3 separate regions of the Homo sapiens genome follow, and all the other regions are linked to region 1. Evidence: promoter capture Hi-C in human tissues and cell types (Jung and others, 2019). All regions are on one chromosome and are shown on one strand. The core of a region is centred on a gene start or on the middle of the fragment in contact, and the rest is flanking DNA. Distances in the headings are between cores, read along the strand shown.

Evidence for each region. The method cuts DNA at HindIII sites, captures the fragments that hold promoters and counts their contacts. A contact is called where the count stands out against the background at its distance.
Region 2: a fragment that was not itself captured here is called in contact with the fragment with the promoter of MESP1 in region 1 in 1 of the 25 tissues and cell types used here (hippocampus).
Region 3: a contact is called between a fragment that was not itself captured here and the fragment with the promoter of MESP1 in region 1, in 1 of the 25 tissues and cell types used here (liver).

What each region holds. Positions count from the first base shown.
Region 1 is chr15:89,749,865-89,752,564 of GRCh38, reverse strand. MESP1 (mesoderm posterior bHLH transcription factor 1) reads left to right here and starts at 1,316. Exons shown (of 2, transcript NM_018670.4): 1 at 1,316-2,056; 2 at 2,338-2,690. The coding sequence starts at 1,334. The coding sequence ends at 2,421. It also overlaps the pseudogene MRPL15P1. RefSeq lists silencers at 1,266-1,695, 1,756-2,045. The HindIII fragment of the contact is 13,666 bases long and covers 1-2,700 here.
Region 2 is chr15:89,565,121-89,567,919 of GRCh38, reverse strand. No RefSeq gene overlaps it. Among named protein-coding and RNA genes, the nearest start is that of TICRR, 8.9 kb to the left of the region's middle. The HindIII fragment of the contact is 8,051 bases long and covers 1-2,799 here.
Region 3 is chr15:89,962,507-89,965,206 of GRCh38, reverse strand. No RefSeq gene overlaps it. Among named protein-coding and RNA genes, the nearest start is that of ZNF710, 37 kb to the left of the region's middle. The HindIII fragment of the contact is 7,091 bases long and covers 1-2,700 here.

The DNA.
Region 1 (2,700 bases), core at 67-2,566:
GAAGCTAAGTCCTTCATTAAATCTGTATTTTGGGATTCCGATGTAAAATAGAGTCTGGCCATCCCCAAAGCCCAGCAGAGCCAGTTTCCTCTCTGCCTTTCTCTTTTATGGCCTCTGCCGCATTTTCTACCTCTTCTCCGACCTTTTGGTCGTCTCATGGGTTTCCTGGAGCCAGGATTCCGCTTTAAATTGGTCAGGCTCATGCGCAGCAGGGCCCAGAGCTGCCATAACCTGCGAAAAGAGTTTTATTTCTTCCTTTCTGACCTGTATGTCTTTTGTTTCCTAATTGCATAGCCTAGATCCTCCATCTGGTACAATGTTGAATAGGAGTGGTAAGAGAGACACCCTCGCTTTGTTCCTGCAATCGGGGGGTGGGGGGAAGATTTCAGTCTTTCACTACTCAGTATGAGGCTACCTGTAGGTTCTTTGTAGGAGCCTTTCATCAGGTTGATGAAATTCCTCTCTATTCTTAGTTTGCTGAGAATTTTCATCACGAAGGGTGTTGGATTTTGTCAAATGCCTTTGCTGCGTCATTTCCACTCACATTTCATTGGGAAAACCTGTTATACCTGTCCAATAGCGGCAGAACATCAGGTAAAGGCCAGTGGTGACAGCTGTGGCAACAGGCCAAGCTCCAGACCTTGCCAGGCTAGAGGTGGCCTGGGGTTGGAGCAGGCTTAACCCCCTCCCTCTGCTCAGAAGGTCCAGCATCCTGACCAGACTCGGCAGCTTATTGAATTTGCCGGGGTGCAAGCTTCCTTGCACTGTCCACATGTTCTTACCAGGGAAGGGTCTACCCAGGGCCATCCTGCCTCAAAGGAGAAGTGGTTTACTGTTTTCTCCACCTTTAGAGGGAATGAGGGTCCCTGCTCCTGGTCCTTACTCTACTCCACTGTCCAATTGGCGCATGCCCTGAGGCTCTCATTATACAAATTGGAAGCTAAGGTGCAAAAGAACTAAGAATTTGCATAAGGTCCCCAACAGGTGAAGGCAGGCCCCAAACCTAGGATCTAGATTTCGTTTTTCTGACCCCGCTTCCTTTAACCTGCAGGGCTGGCCCAACGCCCCGGGCTTCACCCAACACTGGGCGCAGGCGGGAAGGCCGAGAGGCTGGGTCGGGCGCCCAAGCGAGGGCCCAGGTGGGGCGAAACAGGCGCAGTCAAGGGGCTGGCACCTTGGCCCCCCGCCGTGGATTCAAAGGGTCAGGCTCCGCCCCCTCCAAGCCCCGAGCCCACTTTGATGTGCTGATGCGGCCTGGAAGGGGCCACTTCACACCTCGGGCTCGGCATAAAGCGGCCGCCGGCCGCCGGCCCCCAGACGCGCCGCCGCTGCCATGGCCCAGCCCCTGTGCCCGCCGCTCTCCGAGTCCTGGATGCTCTCTGCGGCCTGGGGCCCAACTCGGCGGCCGCCGCCCTCCGACAAGGACTGCGGCCGCTCCCTCGTCTCGTCCCCAGACTCATGGGGCAGCACCCCAGCCGACAGCCCCGTGGCGAGCCCCGCGCGGCCAGGCACCCTCCGGGACCCCCGCGCCCCCTCCGTAGGTAGGCGCGGCGCGCGCAGCAGCCGCCTGGGCAGCGGGCAGAGGCAGAGCGCCAGTGAGCGGGAGAAACTGCGCATGCGCACGCTGGCCCGCGCCCTGCACGAGCTGCGCCGCTTTCTACCGCCGTCCGTGGCGCCCGCGGGCCAGAGCCTGACCAAGATCGAGACGCTGCGCCTGGCTATCCGCTATATCGGCCACCTGTCGGCCGTGCTAGGCCTCAGCGAGGAGAGTCTCCAGCGCCGGTGCCGGCAGCGCGGTGACGCGGGGTCCCCTCGGGGCTGCCCGCTGTGCCCCGACGACTGCCCCGCGCAGATGCAGACACGGACGCAGGCTGAGGGGCAGGGGCAGGGGCGCGGGCTGGGCCTGGTATCCGCCGTCCGCGCCGGGGCGTCCTGGGGATCCCCGCCTGCCTGCCCCGGAGCCCGAGCTGCACCCGAGCCGCGCGACCCGCCTGCGCTGTTCGCCGAGGCGGCGTGCCCTGAAGGGCAGGCGATGGAGCCAAGCCCACCGTCCCCGGTTAGTGTCCCCTTCCCCGCGCCCCCTTCGTCCGTGCCCCCGCGCACAGCCCCACCGCCCGCCAAGGTGAGGACCAGGCACCCTGCTGCTCCCCGCCGGCAGCCTGGCCACCTGGCCACCATAGTATGCCCAGGGCTCCAAGAAGCGAAGGCAGGGAAAGGCCACGCAGAGGACTGGGTCTCCCCTCGCTAGGGGCCCCCTGAGAGTGGAGCCCACGAGCGCGGACACCCGCACAAGGCCACCAGTGCTTGAGGGCTGCGCTGTTCCGTCTCTCCCTACAGCTCCTTCCGGGCGACGTGCTGGCTCTGTTGGAGACCTGGATGCCCCTCTCGCCTCTGGAGTGGCTGCCTGAGGAGCCCAAGTGACAAGGGACAACTGACGCCGTCTCTGTGAGCACCGAGGCTTTTTGGCCTCAGCACCTTCGAAGTGGTTCCTTGGCAGACTGCCTTTCCTGGAAGAGGGCACGGGCGATCCCGACGGGGGCATTCCTGCGGGTGAGAGCCGTCCCCACCGCGGCGGCCCTTCTCAGCCCCTCCCTCCATGGAGGGACCCATAGGGCTAGACACTTTGAGGCAAGCAGGAGGCTCTGCCTAATGTGAATTTATTTATTTGTGAATAAACTGTACTGGTGTCAGTTGGCAATT
Region 2 (2,799 bases), core at 271-2,770, 180 kb after region 1:
GGGCAAGGTGACGGGCACTAGATTGCTTTGACAAGAGGAGTTCTGCTGGAATGGCGGGCATCCAGGGATCAGGGCACTGGCAGAGGGGGTATGAGGAGAGGAAGGCAATGAGGACAGGCCACTCTCTTGAGCAGAGCTTTTTTTTTTTTTTTAATATAAAAAGGAGAGCTGAGAAATGAGGTGGTAGCTAGGGGACATGAGGAGTTTAGGAAAGGGTGTTTGATGTTTTGTTAACATCAGAATATTGCAGGAGATGTTGCAGTGTGTTTGTACTTGGTTGGAAATGACAGAGATTAAATGAAAAGCTGCTGATAGAAAAACAGCGTTGGGGAGAAAGAGGACTGTGGCAGTGCAGTAGCTGGGTCCGGGGTCGGCTCTGTGACAATTTTAGGGTTCTGTTACAAAAGAGAGAAGGGGAGAATGGATATTGAGGAATAACTAGCAGCCTTAGACACACTAGGATTTGGGCAGGAACAGGGGTGAAAAGAGGAGGGTGAGTGGCTTGAGGATGGGACCCAGGGACAGGCAGTATTGATGAGAAATTATTAGGAATTCTTTCAGCTGTGAAGGCAGGAAATTGGACCAGAGTGGCTGAAGTAGATTGAAGATAGGTGGCTGCTGGTGTAGGGTCATTGGTTCAGTTGTGTCAGGGCCAATGACTGTGCTGTTCTCCCGTTTACACAGGCTCATTAACCCAGGGAAGCTGCATACACCCTGGAAGGCAATGCTTTCATAGAAACCAGCCCTCCTTTCAGATTTTGACTTCCATCCCATTTGACTGAAATGGGTCACATGGCTACTCCTAGCTGCAAGGGAGGCTGGGACATTGGGGGAGATTGTCATGCTGGGAGTTGAGGTGTTGGATGGATCGTTTGCACAGATCCCAGGGTGCTAGGAAGGTATGAAGAATGATGATGGGGCAGTGGCAGAGAGACACAGTTAGCCGTGACCAGAATACTTAGTGAATGAGGAAGAGACCTGAAGAGGACTGTGACAAAGAGGCAGGGTGTGGCCTAATGTCAATTGTTTCAAAAAGGCTGGGGGTTTATGGAGGACCGGAAGGGAGGACAGCTACCCCTATCTCAGGCCAACTGGAATGAGGATCATGAGAGGGAAAATAGCCCTCATTTGAGGAGGCCATAGGGGAAGGGTTGCCTGCAGGCATCAGCCAGTTTTCCTGCAAGGCAAGAAGGTGAAGGGAATATTCAGAGTGAAGGCGGAGGGCACAGTGGGTTTGTGTAGGGGTGCACTGCAAATTCCAGAAGACACACTAGGAAGGCTGAGGAAGGGTGGGAGATGGGGTCAGCTTATGGCTATGCAGAGCTGTAAGGGGTTAAAAATCTACATGAGGAGGATGACCTGAGCTTGAGGGTGTCCCATCTGATAGTTTTAACTTTCTCTGAGGAAGGAGGCAAGACTGAGTGAGCGGGGAGTTGGAGGAGTAGGAGTTGGGGGAAAGAGGAGAAGGTTAAAGCAGCTTCTCCGGAGAGTGGAAGGCGAGTTGGCCAGGCAGCCATGAGAAAGGCCCTGGCTGTGTTGAGGGGCCTGGCTGTAGCTTCTCTCTCGCTCTTCCTGAATTCCCCAGGCGGAATTACCACACCCTTTTCTGCATTCCTATGGCATTTTTCTAATGGAAAAGTTTAAGAACAGCCTAATAGCATGGAATTTCTACCCCTGAAAAGCATATTTGTAAAAAAGCAAAAATCGAACCTGGGTTATGGCTCTCATACCTTCGGTTTACATCAGTGATTGGATTGAAATTGTTTTCAGTTGGCTAAACTGCTCCAGAAAAAAAAAAACAAAAAACAAGTGTGGCGAGGTGGCGAGTGTTGTGTCCCAGCCAACTAGTAAACTCAAGATATTTTAATTAAGATGAGAAAAAGAAAGAATAGCGAGAATGGGCCGGGCACGGTGGCTCATGCCTGTAATCCCAGCACTTTGGGAGGCCGAGGCGGGCGGATCACGAGGTCAGGAGATTGAGACTATCCTGGCTAACACGGTGAAACCCCGTCTCTACTAAAAATACAAAAAATTAGCCGGGCGTGGTGGCGGGCGCCTGTAGTCCCATTGGGAGGCTGAGGCAGGAGAATGGCATGAACCCAGGAGGCGGAGCTTGCAGTGAGCCGAGATAGCGCCACTGCATTCCAGCCTGGGCAACAGAGCAAGACCCCTTTTCAAAAAAAAAAAAAAAAAAAAAAAAAAAAAAAAGAAAGAATAGCCAGAATGAGTTGAGGAGAGGTTTAATTACGCTTGGAGCTAAATGCAATCAAATAGATTTTTAAATGGTCTGTGTGTGAGTGTGTGTGTACACTAGAAAACTCACACACAAAAAAAGAACTATAAAAGCTTGAACTGAGGAAAAGAGTCTTTGTTTGCATAAAAATAATGAACTTGGACCACCAGAATCCCACGTAGGGTGTAATAGATGGTAAGACCCCCAGAAAGCCATAACCCCTAATGGCCCTACAAATGAAGTCAGACAAGATAAGGAAAAACTGAGGATCTGGCATGGATAGCTATGGTCAGAGAGCAGAAACCGGCCTCTTCAGGGGTAAAAACTACCCTTAGATCAAGGGAGCTCAAAATATCTCCCTGCCAGGATCTTGGTATGCTGTGGCCCAGTGAGTGTAGTGTTCTTCCTCTTCTTCCACCCTATAAATGATAGTGTTTATTGCACATGTCCAGTCCTTGTTCCAACTATGTGAGATAGATATGGGCTGGCTGACAACATGAGTTCGTTGTTTTTCTTTTTAACTTTTGAATTTTAATTATAGATCAAGTTTCTCTCTCTCTCTCTCT
Region 3 (2,700 bases), core at 88-2,587, 210 kb before region 1:
TTTTACTGTGGGTCAAGCCCGGAGACCTGTGGAATTGGTTTATCTCAGGGAGAGGCATGACTTGGGGGGGTCACAACTGCTGACTTCTAAGAGTCTGAGGAAGATGGTACAGGGACATTTAAGATCTTTGAGGTCCACAGACACATTTACTTTTGGAGGCCCCACCCCAGGTCACACGAAGCATGTTAAAATGCATCTGTACCCACAATTAAATAGAATCTATATCTAACAACATAACAGTCACATTGCCATTGCCTATTTGGCAAGTGTTACATTTTGCAGACAGTTAACATTTATTGTGATTGTGCCATTTTTATTTTTCGGAGTCAATCTTTTCTGTCTTCTTGTTGGTTGTTTTTTAGGTTGCAAACATTTTGTTAGACCTTGGCACTTTGCCACAGTGCCCGGTGGATGGAGCGGTGTGGGGTGTGCCAAGGCCAGTGGGTGGCACTTTAAGAGAGCCTGTGTTGGCTCAACAGAAGGAGCTTTCTAACCATGAGAGAGCTGCCTGTACCAGAAGAGCTTCCTGTTCCTGGAAATAATTTTATTTCAGGCCAGCTAACATCTACTTAGCACCTGGTGCATGCCAGGCCCTGTCCCACCATCAGAAATGCTGCAGGAAGAATTACTGTCCTCAATGGGAAGCAGGAAATGTGGTCTCTGGAGTCCCTTCCAGTCCAGTGATTTCATAGGTATGGGGGCATTGTCTAGCAGCTTGCCAGTCAAAGTGTGATTCCTGGGGCAGCAGCAGCAGCAGGATCAGTCAGGAGCTTCTTATAAATGTGAATCTCAGGCTTCACTCAGACCTACTAAATTAGAATCTGCATTTTTACAAGATCCTCCATGATCATGTACATATTACAGTTTGAGAAACAGTACTCTCACTCCCAGACAAACTTTGTTGATCTTACCAGCAATGCCATTCCTGGGCTGAACACAGCTATAAGTTTGAGGGCTCATTTGTAATTTAGGGAGGAGCATTGCCCTAATATTAACTGATAACCACCAGTGCGTGTCCCACGGACAACTCAGGGCCCCAACAGAGCCCGCCGAAGGCTCAGCCAGGGACCTATATTCTGGGGTCTAGGGTGTGCGTAGGGAGGGGGACTGCTGAGGGCTCACTGCCAGTCTCAGGGTACCCTCTGTGTTTGCAGAATCCCATTCTCTCCTGCCCAAGAAGTCTCCTTGGCTGTCCTGGGGTTAGCATGCGGCAGTCCATGGCATTCTTTGATCTGTAGGCCAAGGGCAGTTGCTGCTATGAGAGGTCTGTCACTGTGGGAGGGCAGAGCAGTGGGCACATGGAACCTGGGCAGGGTAGAATCCTGAATTTCTGTGCTACATTTTACATGCCATACTTGCAGGATGGAATGCCAGTCATAGTCACCTCCTCCCTAGACATCTGTTAACTGCCCTACTGTGTGCCCAGCACTTGGCAAACATCATCTGATTGATCTGCGTAACTAACCTCCCTAAAGTGGGGTGGCAGCTGAGGCTCACATGGGTGAGGTGACTTGCTCAGTCTGCACAGGGGCCTGGACTGCAGGCCTGATTTGAAGATGCCCAGATGTGGAGCCTGGAAGGGCTCAAGGTGGTCAGAGGCAAGCAATGGGGAAGTTATAGATAAAGCAGGAACATGAGCATGTGGCAGCCCAGCACTGGCCCTTGAAGAGTTTGCGGTCCTCAGGGTGTTAGGCAAATGCCCATGTGACTGAAATAGGGTGGAAGAACTCAGAAGGTGAAGCCTTGACTGCTGGGTGGCCACAAAGTTGCCAAAGAGCTGTGATCTCCCTCTCAGGGAACCCCGTGAAGGGCCCCGTGATGAAGAGAATGCTCTGGGCCTTAGCCGGGGCCTCCTGTCTGCAAGGCCTGGGTAAGGCTCCCCACTTGAATGCTTTCTAGTGGTTTCTTTTTTTTTTCTTTATTATTGAGACAGGGTCTCACTCTGTTGCCCAGGCTGGAGTGCAGTGGCACGGGATCATAGCTCATTGCAGCCTTGACCTCCTGGGCTCAAGTGATCCTTCCATGTCAGCCTCCTGAGTAGCTGGGACTACAGGCACATGCCACCATGCCTGGCTAATTCTTGTATTTTTTGTAGAGACAGGGTTTTTCCATATTGCCCATGCTGGTCTCAAACTCTCCTGGGCTCAAGCAATCCTCCCGCCTTGGCCTTCCCAACATGCTGGGATTACAGGCATGAGCCACCGTGCCTGACTATTACTCTTAATATCTTAGCTGATTCTTTTAGATTATTTTAGTATCTCTCTTTTTTTTTTTTTTTTGAGATGGAGTTTCGCTCTTGTTGCCCAGGCTGGAGTGCAATGGCACAATCTCGGCTCACCGCAACCTCTGCCTCCCGAGTGCAAGCTATTCTCCTGCCTCATCCTTCCGAGTAGCTGGGATTACAGGCATGTGCCACCATGCCTGGCTAATTTTGTATTTTCAGTAGAGACGGGGTTTCTCCATGTTGGTCAGGCTGGTCTTGAACTCCCGACCTCAGATGACCTGTCCGCCTCAGCCTCCCAAAGTGCTGGGATTACAGGCACGAGCCACCACACCTGGCCTATTTTAGTATATCTTACCGTTCTGATTTGTATTGTTCCGAATTATTTTTCCTTACTAAATGGTTTCATTTTCTCGTTTATCCTTTCAAACCTTTCAAGCTTTCTGGTTTCCTTTCACGTATCCTTAATTATCTGTTTT